Regions from separate parts of the Homo sapiens genome. Here all the other regions are linked to region 1. The links are contacts of gene promoters, found by promoter capture Hi-C in human tissues and cell types (Jung and others, 2019). All regions are on one chromosome and are shown on one strand. The core of a region is centred on a gene start or on the middle of the fragment in contact, and the rest is flanking DNA. Distances in the headings are between cores, read along the strand shown.

Region 1 (3,525 bases), core at 659-3,158:
CTCAGCCTCCCAAGTAGCTGGGATTACAGGCACGCACCACCACACCTGGCTCATTTTTGTATTTGTAGTAGAGATGGGAGTTTCACCATGTTGGCCAGACGGGTCTCGAACTCCTGACCTCAAGTGATCTGCCCATCTCAGCCTCCCAAAGTGCTGGGATTACAGGCGTGAGCCACCGCGCCCGGCCAAAAAAAGGAATAAATTATAACCAAATATGATAACATGGAAGAACTGCAAAGACAAGACGTGGAGAGAAAGAACCCAGATTCAATACAGGAGTCCATTTTTATCCAGCTCAAAACAAGACAAAACTACTGCGCCAGACTTCGGGCGAGTGGGGATCTGTGGGAATTCGTGCTGGGAAGAAAGACAGGGGGCTTGTGGAGGGTGAGAATGTTCTGTGTCTGGATTTGTATGAATGTCACACAGGTTTGCTCAGTTGGTGACATTTCATCAACCTAAATACTTAATGATTCGTGATCTTTTTTGTACTTCAATTTAAAAAAAAGTGTCGAGCATGACACATTTAGGTAAAAAGAAAAAAATGCACACTCAAAAGAAAAGTCTGTTTCTAGGAGCACATGTTTATATGATGTGCTTAAACGCACAGACAGCAGTTTGGACGAAACTCGACAACGTGTCATATTGGTCACACCCTGCTTAAGAAAGGCAGGGGATGGGGAGGGGCTTCCCCAAGGCTTTACCTCCATCTCTAATGTTTTTTGATGTGTGTGTGTGTTTTTTTTTTTTGTTTTTTGTTTTTTGAGACAGGGTCTGGCTCTGCCACGCAGACTGAAGTGCAGTGGCACCATCATGGTTCACTGCAGCCTCGACCTCCTTGGGCTCAAGCAATCTTCTAGCCTCAGCCTCCTGAGTAGCTGGGACTACAAGTGTGCATCACTACGCTCAGCTAACTTTTTTTTTTTGAGACAGAGTTTCGCTCCTGTTGCCCAGGCTGGAGTGCAATGGCGCGATCTCGGCTCACGGCAACCTCCGCCTCCTGGGTTCAAGCAATTCTCCTGCCTCAGCCTGCCGAGTAGCTGGGATTACAGGCATGTGCCACAACGCCTGGCTAATTTTGTATTTTTAGTAGAGACGGGGTTTCTCCATGTTGCTCAGGCTGGTCTTAAACTCCCAACCTCAGGTGATCCGCCCACCTCGGCCTCCCAAAGTGCTGGGATTGCAGGAGTGAGCCACCACACCGGCCTAACGTTTTACATTTTTTGTAGAGACGGGGTTTTGTCACGTTGTTCAAGCTGGTCTCAAACTCTTAGACTCAAGCGATCCGCCTGCCTTGGCCTCCCAAAGTGCTGGATGACAGGCGTGAGCCCCTGTGAGCCCCCGTGCCTGGTCCGGTATGTAATTTTTTTTAAGGTAACAGTGGATTGTGTGAGGATTAAATGAGTTAATATTTTTAAAGTCCTTACAGCAGTGTGTGGTACACAGTAGGTGCTATGTGGAGGTTTGTTACAATAAAGTCAGAAAGTGAAAATGTTTTCCAGGGTACAAATGGTATCACTTAAACTAGGAATAAGAGACGCCTATGAAGAAATATACAAAATACTATGTCTTGTGAGTTTCCATTCAAACCTTCATGAATTATATATATGAATATGTCCTTCTAGACAGACAGACTTATCTTTTTGAGTGAGTGTGTGTGTTTTTACATAAATATCAGTCATGCTTTAAAAAGAAAAGCCCCTTCTTTTATTGAAGTATGACAGTGACGGGTCTCGACACCGAAAGATGGGGGAGATAGAGAGCCCGCCGGGGAGCTTGAGGGTGGGAGAGCCAGCGATGCCGGAAACCTCAGCAGAAGGGATCCCCGTGTGGGGGAGGGGGGCCTTCGGTCTCTCCCCAGCCTCTTCCTTCCCCCTGGCCTGAGGGTGGGTGGGGAGGGGCAGTTCCTCTTTCCTTCCCAAGCACCGAGGAGGCCCCAGCTCCCTAGGGGCTGAGAAGCTGGAGTCCTGGGCAAGGGGAGGAGCTGAGCCCTACTCTTGCAAGACCCCCGGCCTCCTCACCCCACGCGGGAAGCATGAACAGAAAAGACAGTAAGAGGTGAGAGGACCCTCCCCAGGGAGCCCGGCAGCACCCTGAGGCCTCCCTCTGCATGGGAGGGCTGGGGAGATCACTCGCCAGGGTGGCAGGATTCCTGACTTCTTTGGGATCAGGCGCAGGGGGGCCAGGTGGATGCTTCAGGGAGTCTGGAGCCAGCTACGGCTGCAGTCGCTTGTATGTGGCATCTGTACCGTGTTGTCCCTGGAGTTTGAGCTGCTCCGTGCCCCTTTTCCACTCCTCATCACCCCACCTCCATCCCTGGCCTGGGCTGAGTGTCTCTGCCCTCCCTGGGGGCTTCCTGGTTCCCCATCCCCGTGGACTGGAAACTCCAGGCTCCTGCAGGGCCTGGCCCAGGAGAGGGGAGTGTGGCACAGGGCAAGGCGACTCCCCTGCCTCTTAAACCACTCCTGGCTGTTCCAGACCCCTACAGGGGGCTGCAGGACAGGGCCTAGTGGCTGGCTGTGCGGCCGGTTCTGGAATGGGCTTCATCTCCTGGGCAAGCTGGCCCTTCTGTCCCCACAGAGGCAGATGGTGGGTGGCTCCCTAGCCTGGGTAACTCCTCCTGCCACCCCCAGCACCACTCTGATGGGCAAAGGGCTTTCCTCCCCACCCAGCAGTTTAGTGGTAGACTCCTGGCTGCCTAATTTCCTAGCTGTGTGACCTTAGGTAAGTCACTTAACTGCTCTGTGTCTCGGGTTTTTCTTCTGTCAGTAGAACAATCATATCCTCTACCTCGGAGAGGCCTGTAAGTACTCAATGAGACACTCTAGACCAGTGGTTCTCAAACTGGAGCGAGCCTCAGAACTGTCTGGAGGGCTTGTAAAATACAGGTTGCTGGGCTTACCTTTAAAGTGTTTGGTTTTTTTTTTTTTGTTTTTTTTTTTTGAGACGGAGTCTCGCTCTGCCGCCAGGCTGGAGTGCAGTGGCACAATCTTGGCTCACTGCAACCTCTGCCTCCCGGGTTCAAGCGATCATCCTGCCTCAGCCTCCCAAGTAGCTGGGACTACAGGTGTGCACCACCACACCCAGCTACTTTTTTGTATTTTTAGTAGAGATGGGGTTTCACCATGTTGGGCAGGATGGTCTCGATCTCTTGACCTCGTGATCCACCCACCTCGGCCTCCCAAAGTGCTGGGATTAGAGGCATGAGCCACCACCCTTAGCCTTAAAGTGTTTGATTTTGTAGGTCTGGGTTGGGACCTGAGAATCTGTATTGATATCCAGTTCCCAGGTGATGCTTTTGGTACTAGCTGGGTGCCCACACTTAGGGAAATGCTGACTTAGTTAGAATGCTCCTTCCTTAGCCTAGGACATATATAATACTTTAAAATGTCCCTTCTAGTAACGATGGCTCATGCCTCTAATCCCAGCACTTTGGGAGGATAAGACAAGGAGAACTTGAAGCCAGGAGTTCTAGACCAGCCTGAGAAATATAGTGAGACCCCCCCCCCCATTGACACACACCCA
Region 2 (3,794 bases), core at 1,238-3,737, 610 kb before region 1:
CCCAGGCTGAAGTGCAGTGGCATGATCACAGCTCACTGCAGCCTCAACCTCCCAGGCTCAAGCCATCCTCCCACCTCAGCCTCCCAAGTAGCTGAGACTACAGGTGCACACCACTATTTGCAGCTACTTTTTAAATTTTTTGTAGAGACGGGGTTTCACTGTGTTGCCAGCGCTGGTCTCAAACTCCTGGGCTCAAGAGATCCTCCTGCCTCGGCCTCCCAAAGTGCTGGGATTACAGGTGTGAGCCCCCATGCCAGGACCCATTTAATTCTTTTCTGCATTTGTGGAGAGGATTCTAAGAGGGTCAAAAGGAGGTTTTATTTATTTTATTTATTTAAGACAGCTTCTCACTCTGTCGCCTAGGCTGGAGTGCAGTGGTGAGGTCTCAGCTCACTGCAACCTCTGCCTCCCTTGTTGAAGTGATTCTCATGCCTCAGCTTCCCGAGTAGCTGGGATCACAGGCATGCGCCACCATGCCCGGCTAATTTTTGTATTTTCAGTAGAGACGGAGTTTCGCCATTTTGGCCAGGCTGGTCTCACACTCCTGACCTCAAGTGATCCGCCTGCCTCAGCCTCCCAAAGTTCTGGGATTACAGGCGTGAGCCATCATGCCCGGCCTGGAGGTTTTATATTTAATTATTTCCCTGATACTACGTAATTTGCTCATTATGCCAACTGTTTATCATGTCTCTCCCTCTAGAAGGTAAGTTCTTTGTGGGGAAGAATCCATGTCTGGTTTTGTTTGTTGATGTCTTAAACTATGTATACAGCTCACGTTATGTCGAAGCCAAATAAAATATAGAGATATAGAGACAAATCTCTCGATTTAAAATGTTTTGTTGCGGTGGCTCATGCCTGCGATCCCAGCACTTTGGGAGGCTGAGGCGGGCAGATCACCTGAGGTCGGGAGTTTGAGACCATCCTGGCCAACATGGTGAAACCCCGTCTCTACTAAAAATACAAAAATTAGCTGGGCATGGTGGCATGCGCCTGTAATCCCAGCTACTCGGGAGGCTGAGGCAGGAGAATCGCTTGAACCCATGAGGCGGAGGTTGCAGTGAGACGAGATTGCATCACTGCCCTCCAGCCTGGGCGACAGAGCGAGACTCTGTCTCAAAAAAATAATAAAATGTTTTATTTGGGAAGCAAGAATTGACATTCGAGGCATCCACACAGACCAGGCGGTCTTCAGAACTTTCAAAGAACAAAGAGGTTAGAGGTTTTTATAAGAAACAGAAATGTTAGGTATTGTTTTGCAAGAAAGTTCATTGACACTAGCAACGTTCTGGGGAGCTGGCAAGTTCTGACTGGTAAGTGACAGCAGAGGGAAAAACTAGTCTTAGAGTCACGGCAGGTTTTTTCAGTACCAGTTAGACTGCTTCCAGGTTACAACAGGCAGTTTTAACAGCCAGGCTTGCAGAGAATCACTTTCTTGGAGCAATGGTATCTGCCCTAAGTGTTTTCCCCCCGGCCTCTCAACTTTGTTTTAGTTGGATATGACAAGAAGGATCCAATTCACATGATCAACTTTCACAATTTTTTTTTTCTGTTTGTTTTTTGAGACGGAGTCTCACTCACTCTTTTGCACAGGCTGGAGTGCAGTGGTGCAATCTCTGCTCACTGCAACCTCCCCCTCCCGGATTCAAGCAATTCTCCTGCCTAAGCCTCCAAATTAGCTGGGATTACAGGCGCGTGCTACCACGCCCAGCTAATTTTTGTATTTTTAGTAGAGACGGGGTTTCACCATGTTGGCCAGGCTGGTCTCGAACTTCTGACCTCAAGCGATCCGCCTGCCTTGGCCTCCCAAAGTGCTGGGATTACGGGCATGAGTCACCGCACCCAGCCACAATTGTATTTTTATTGGACAGAGCTGATCTAGAGGTTAAAATGAGGAATTCCGGAGCTAGGCTGGCTGGATTCAAATCCCTACTAGCTGGTGATCATAGACAAGCCACTTGGCCTCTGCTGGTCTCAGTTTTTTCACCTGTGAAGTAAAGGGCATAACAGCACCTACTTCATGGGGTTGCCACCCTGGCTGGCAGTAAAACCGTCCATAAAAGTTGGCTGGTGTTACTATTGGTTGCATTAATTTTTAGCAGCCGGAGCCTGTTTTCTCCTGTGAAATGAAGATAACCACGCCCGACCTTAAAGGTGATGGAAATTTTTTAACACGTTAACGGATACGAGGCCTCCCACTCAGAAGCCTGACCAAAATAACAATGGTTGCTCAGAGCCAGACGTCTCATTGCTACTAACGAATTAGGGACACTTCAAGGGGCCGGCTGGAGGGGACGGCTGTGAGCAGCAGGCCTTGGCTCCTGGCTGCACCTGGCCCCGTCGCGGGAAGCAGGTTGGGTTTGGAGAGCGGGAGGGAGCAGGCGGGAGGGGCTGGCGAGTAAGAAAGAGGATGCAGGGGTGGGTGAAGCTGGCTAGTAAGAGGGGAGGGGCCGGCGAGTAAAAAGGACGCAGAGGGGCGTGGGGAGCTTGCGGCACAGCTAGGGCATCCCGGCGAGGAGCGCCGCCAGGCCCCGGGGTAGGACTTGGGGTGCGGTGTCGGTGCGGCCGCCGAGGGGGGCTGATTGCATGCAATTCGGGGCATACACACAGACCGCGGGGTCTCCGGGATATCGGGGCTATCAAGGACGGGCTGGGGGATGGGGACTTGGGGACGGGGCCCAGGGATGGTGAAGACGGGGGTGCGGCTGGCAGAATCAGGGCAGGCAGAGGCTGCGCGCCGCGGAGGCTGCTGGTCCCTGACGCCTTGACCCTTCCTCTCCCGCAGCCACAGCCGGGCCTGGCGGGGGGACCATGGGCGCCTCGGTCTCCAGGGGCCGGGCCGCCCGGGTCCCCGCGCCGGAGCCGGAACCCGAAGAGGCGCTGGACCTGAGCCAACTACCCCCAGAGCTGCTTCTGGTGGTGCTGAGCCACGTCCCCCCGCGCACGCTGCTCGGGCGCTGCCGCCAAGTGTGCCGGGGCTGGCGAGCCCTGGTGGACGGCCAGGCCCTGTGGCTGCTGATCCTGGCCCGCGACCACGGCGCCACCGGCCGCGCGCTGCTGCACCTCGCCCGCAGCTGCCAGTCTCCCGCCCGTAACGCCAGGCCTTGCCCCCTGGGCCGCTTCTGCGCGCGCAGACCCATCGGACGCAACCTTATTCGCAACCCCTGCGGCCAAGGTGGGATCTCGGAAGAGGAAGTCCAGGATGCTGGGCCACAGTGGGAGCGGTAGCGGGGCCGGAGGGGCGGGGCCGCACTGGGACCGGTACTAGGGGCCGCAGGGGCAGGGCCGCAGTGGGACCGGTGGGAGGAGTCGGAGAGGCGGGGCAGCATTGGGAGCCGGTGTGAGGTGCCGGAGGGGCGGGGCAGCATTGGGAGCCGGTGGGAGGTGTCGGAGGGACGAGGCAGCATTGGCACGCAGGGTGCAGGGCTGACTGGGCAGGGCTTCACCGTTTGCCTGTGGGAGGGGTGGGAGTGGGGCAGTTCTGGGAGCCCGAGAGAGGGGTTGGAGGGGCAGGGCTTTGCTGCAAATCAGTGAGAAGGGCCAGAGGAGCGGGGCTTTGCCCTGAGCTGGTGGGAGGGGAAGGGGGCGGGGCCTCGGTGGGAAGGGTCAGGTGAGTGAGCTGCACTGTGAGCACGTGGGAGGGGCTAGGGGCGGGGTCTCACTAGGAACCAACAGGCGGGCGACTGGAACTTGGGCACAAGCCTTTTTTATTTCACAGAAGGCCTCCGAAAGTGGATGGTGCAACACGGTGGGGACGGCTGGGTGGTGGAGGAAAACAGGACAACCGTGCCTGGGGC
Region 3 (3,724 bases), core at 692-3,191, 870 kb before region 1:
GGCTCCTATTGGCTCCCCAGACCCTGGTCCTTCTCTTCCTGGGTCACTCACCTTTTTGGGGGCCTCCTGGAGCCGGTGCAGCCAGTGGTGGAGGCGGCCCCGGGGCCTGGGCCCTGCTGTGGGCTGAGGCTGGATCTGTGGGCAGAAGAGGGCGGTGTGTGAGGCGGAGCCTGGGCCACCACAGGGGAAGGATGCTGCTCAGAGCCCACAGACCTGGGTGCCCGGGCCCCAAGGACTCACACAGGCCTGGAGCTGGGAGAGGATGTGGTGCAGGGTGTGAAGGGGCTGGTCTAGGACGTCCTCCAGGGCTGGGCCAGCAGCGGCCTCCAGGACCTTCAGCGTCAGGGCCAGCTCAGCCTCCAAGGCCACAGGGCGCTCCCTCACCTGAGGAGAGGTGAGAAAGAGCAGGTGAGGGAGAACAGGCAAGAAGACCCAGTTAGTGGGGACAGGTAGGCAGTCCTGGGGAAGGTCGGTGACACAGTGCATGTGGTGGGGACAGGTGAGGGGTCTGGGGAGAAGGAGACAGGAGGGGGAAGACATGAGGAAGGATACAGGTGAGGCAGGATGGTCAAGGAGGCAGGTGAGGGGATAAGTGAAATGGAGACAAATGAAAGGGGACTTACGGGGGTCACAGAAGTTCTCTGGGGCGGGGTGGGGACGGGTGAGGAGAAAGCAGGTTGGGGGCACAGTAAGAGAGGGACAGTTGCATGCACAGAGAAGAAGGGTAGGGCTGGGTGTGGTGGCTCACGCCTGTAATCCCAGCACTTTGGGAGGCCGAGGCGGGTGGATCACCTGAGGTCAGGATTTCGAGACCAAGCCTGGCCAACATAGTGAAACCCCGTCTCTGCTAAAAATACAAAAATTAGCTGGGCATCATGGCACATGCCTGTAATCCCAGCTACTCGGGAGGCTGAGGCAGGATAATTGCTTGAACCCGGGAGGCAGAGGTTGCAGTGAACCGAGATCATGCCACTGCACTCCAGCCTGGGCCATAGAGCAAGACTCTGTCTCAAAAAAAAAAAAAAAAAAAAAAAAAAGAGAAGGGTGGATGAGGGGGGAGCATGAGCTGGATGAATGTCAGTGAGAGATAATGAGGGACAGGTGACAGAGGCAGGTGAGAGGGAGAGGGGGTCAGTGTTGGGAACAGACAGGGAGAAGTGGAGCAGGACGAAAGGCACAGGTGGGCGACAGACTGGAGACATTTGGGAGAGAAATGAAGAGTGAGAGTGGAAGTGACAGGGACAGGTGAGCGAGCTAGGGAAGTGGGGCCGATGGGAGATGATAAAAGGGACCCAGGGGAAGGACAGAGTCAAGAGAGCAGTTTTGAAGTGGCAGGGGCACAGGACAGGTGAGGAGAGGTCCAAGAGAGTGAAGGACAAGGGAAACAAAGAAGGCTAAGGGGCCACTTAAGAAGAGGGGGGAGAGGGTCAAGGGAAGGGTGAAGGGGGCCTGACTTTCAGCTCACCTGGAGAAGCCTCAGGTCCCAATTCCCGGGGAAGACAGGAGAGCTGCAACTCCAGTTTTTCAGCTTGAGTGACTCTTCCTAGAGAGCAAGGGCAGGGGTTAGCCCACAGCAGGATGGCTGGAAGCTAGCTCATAGCAGCAAGGATGAAGTTGGCCTGACAGCATGGGTTTAACCCAGTGCAGAAAGGATAGAGGTTTGCCATAGTTGGAAGGCTAGAGGCTAGCCCACAGTAGAAGGGCAGTAATTGGGACACCCGTAGAAGTGGTTCATCCACAGCAACAGGAACTCACCAAGGCGTCCCTGGCCTTCTTGAAGCTCGCTAGCTCCTGTGGTGACAGAGATTTGAACCTGCCAATGTGGCAGCCCTTCCCAGTTGTGGTGGGCTTGGAAGTGGGGACAGGGCCTGCCACGGCCAAGCCTAGCACCAAAGTCACCAGCACCACGGTCCAAGCTGCAGCCATGGCTAAATCGCAACTGCTTCCCCAGCGGCATGGCTCTGCTTTTTAGCCACGCAAAATGGGCAATCCAAGATGATGTGTGTAAAGTGAAAAGGTAATTGGAAATGAGAATTTCCACTTTGACTTAAGAGGCATGAGTGGGCGGGGCCCGTCTGGGAGCCTGATGAGGGAACAGGTGTGGGCAGGGCCAAGTGAGCTGGGAGCTGCATCAAGAAGGAAAGAGAAACTGAAATCCTTAGAACTCCCTGGGCAGCTTTCAGCCAACTGGCCTCAGGGAGTCCCTGACGGAGGCTGAGATTAGGGATAAGGCTACCTGAGTGGCAGAGAGGAAGCTTCTTTTTTATTCTAAATTAGCCAGGTGTGGTGGCATGCGCCTGTGGTCTCAGCTACTCAGGAGGCCGAGGCATGAGAATCACTTGAACCCGGGAGGCGGAGGTTGCAGTGAGCCAAGATCGTGCCACTGCACTCCAGCCTGGGTGATGGAGTGAGATCCTGTTTCAAAAAAAAAAAAGCTTGTTTTTTATTTTATTGTTATTATTATTTTTTGAGACGTAGTTTTGCTCTTGTTGCCCAGGCTGGAGTGCAATGGTGCAATCTTGGCTCACTGCAACTTCTGCCTCCCGAGTTGAAGCGATTCTCCTGCCTCAGCCTCCTAAGTAGTTGGGATTACAGGTGCATGCCATCACGCCTGGCTAGTTTTTGTATTTTTAGTAGAGACTGGGTTTTACTATGTTGGTCACGCTGGCTTCGAACTCCTGACTTCAGATGATCTGCCTGCCTTGGCCTCCCAAAGTGCTGGGATTACAGGCGTGAGCCACCACCTTACTTTATTATTTATTTATTTATTTTTGTAGAGATAGGGGTCTCACTATGTTGCCCAGGCCAGTCTTGAACTCCTGGCCTTAAGCCATCCTCCTGCTTCAGCCTCGCAAAGTGCTAGTATTAAAGGCATGAGCCACTGCTCCTGGCCAAGAAGGAGCTTCTGCCATTGGTTTAAGAATGTCCCATTAACTAATTTCAGTTCATGCTCCTAATGTTTCTCTGAGTAGTTATTTTTATAATTGTGATGGTTAATTTTAGGTGTCACCTTGACTGGTTAAGTTTATCAGATAGCTGGTGATGCGTTAATTCTGGGTATGACTCTGGGGTGTTTCCAGAAGAGATTGGCATTTGAATCAATGGACTGAGTAAGGAAGACCCGTTGTTACCCAATGTGGTGGGCACCATCCAATTGGCCGAGGGCCTGAATAGAACAAAAAGGCAGAGGAAAGGAGAATTTGCTCTCTCTTATGAGCTGGGACACCCTGCACCTGCCCTTAAACATCAGAACTCCAGGCTCTTTGGTCTTTGAATGCTGGGATGTGCAGCTGGGCATGGTGGCTCACGCCTGTAATCCCAGCAGTTTGGGAGGCTGAGGCAGGTGAATCACTTGAGGTCAGGAGTTCGAGACCAGCCTGGCCAACATGGTGAAACCCCATCTCTACTAAAAATATAAAAATCAGCCAGGCGTGGTGGCACAGGCCTGTAGTCCCAGCTACTTGGGAGGCTGAGGCAGGAGTATCGCTTGAACCCTGGAGGCGGAGGCTGCAGTGAGCTGAGATCATGTCACTGCACTCCAGCCTGGTCAACAGAGTGAGACTCCATCTCAGAAAAAAAAAAAATGCTGGGACTTGCACTAGCTACCCCCTAAGTCCTGAGGCTTTTATTCTGGAACTGAGCTGCACTACAAGCTTCCCTGGTTCTCCAGCTTGCAGATGGCCTGTTGTGGAACTTCTTAGCCTCCCTAATTGTCTGAGCCAAT

The links. The method cuts DNA at HindIII sites, captures the fragments that hold promoters and counts their contacts. A contact is called where the count stands out against the background at its distance.
Region 2: a contact is called between the fragment with the promoter of FBXO27 here and the fragment with the promoter of RASGRP4 in region 1, in 5 of the 25 tissues and cell types used here (IMR-90 fibroblasts, lymphoblastoid cells, mesenchymal stem cells and 2 more).
Region 3: a contact is called between the fragment with the promoter of IFNL1 here and the fragment with the promoter of RASGRP4 in region 1, in 2 of the 25 tissues and cell types used here (adrenal gland and dorsolateral prefrontal cortex).

What each region holds. Positions count from the first base shown.
Region 1 is chr19:38,424,602-38,428,126 of GRCh38, reverse strand. RASGRP4 (RAS guanyl releasing protein 4) reads left to right here and starts at 1,908. Exons shown (of 17, transcript NM_170604.3): 1 at 1,908-2,058. The coding sequence starts at 2,036. RefSeq lists an enhancer at 566-1,080 and a silencer at 1,973-2,032. The HindIII fragment of the contact is 24,204 bases long and covers 1-3,525 here.
Region 2 is chr19:39,031,242-39,035,035 of GRCh38, reverse strand. It overlaps FBXO27 (F-box protein 27), which reads left to right and starts at 2,487. Exons shown (of 6, transcript NM_178820.5): 1 at 2,487-2,533; 2 at 2,783-3,172; 3 at 3,716-3,794. The coding sequence starts at 2,809. RefSeq lists silencers at 2,709-2,778, 2,839-2,988, 3,189-3,268, 3,419-3,658, 3,508-3,690 and an enhancer at 2,600-3,392. The HindIII fragment of the contact is 13,585 bases long and covers 1-3,794 here.
Region 3 is chr19:39,294,624-39,298,347 of GRCh38, reverse strand. It overlaps IFNL1 (interferon lambda 1), which reads right to left and starts at 1,941. Exons shown (of 5, transcript NM_172140.2): 1 at 1,756-1,941; 2 at 1,466-1,543; 3 at 241-384; 4 at 52-135. The coding sequence starts at 1,926. The HindIII fragment of the contact is 11,779 bases long and covers 1-3,044 here.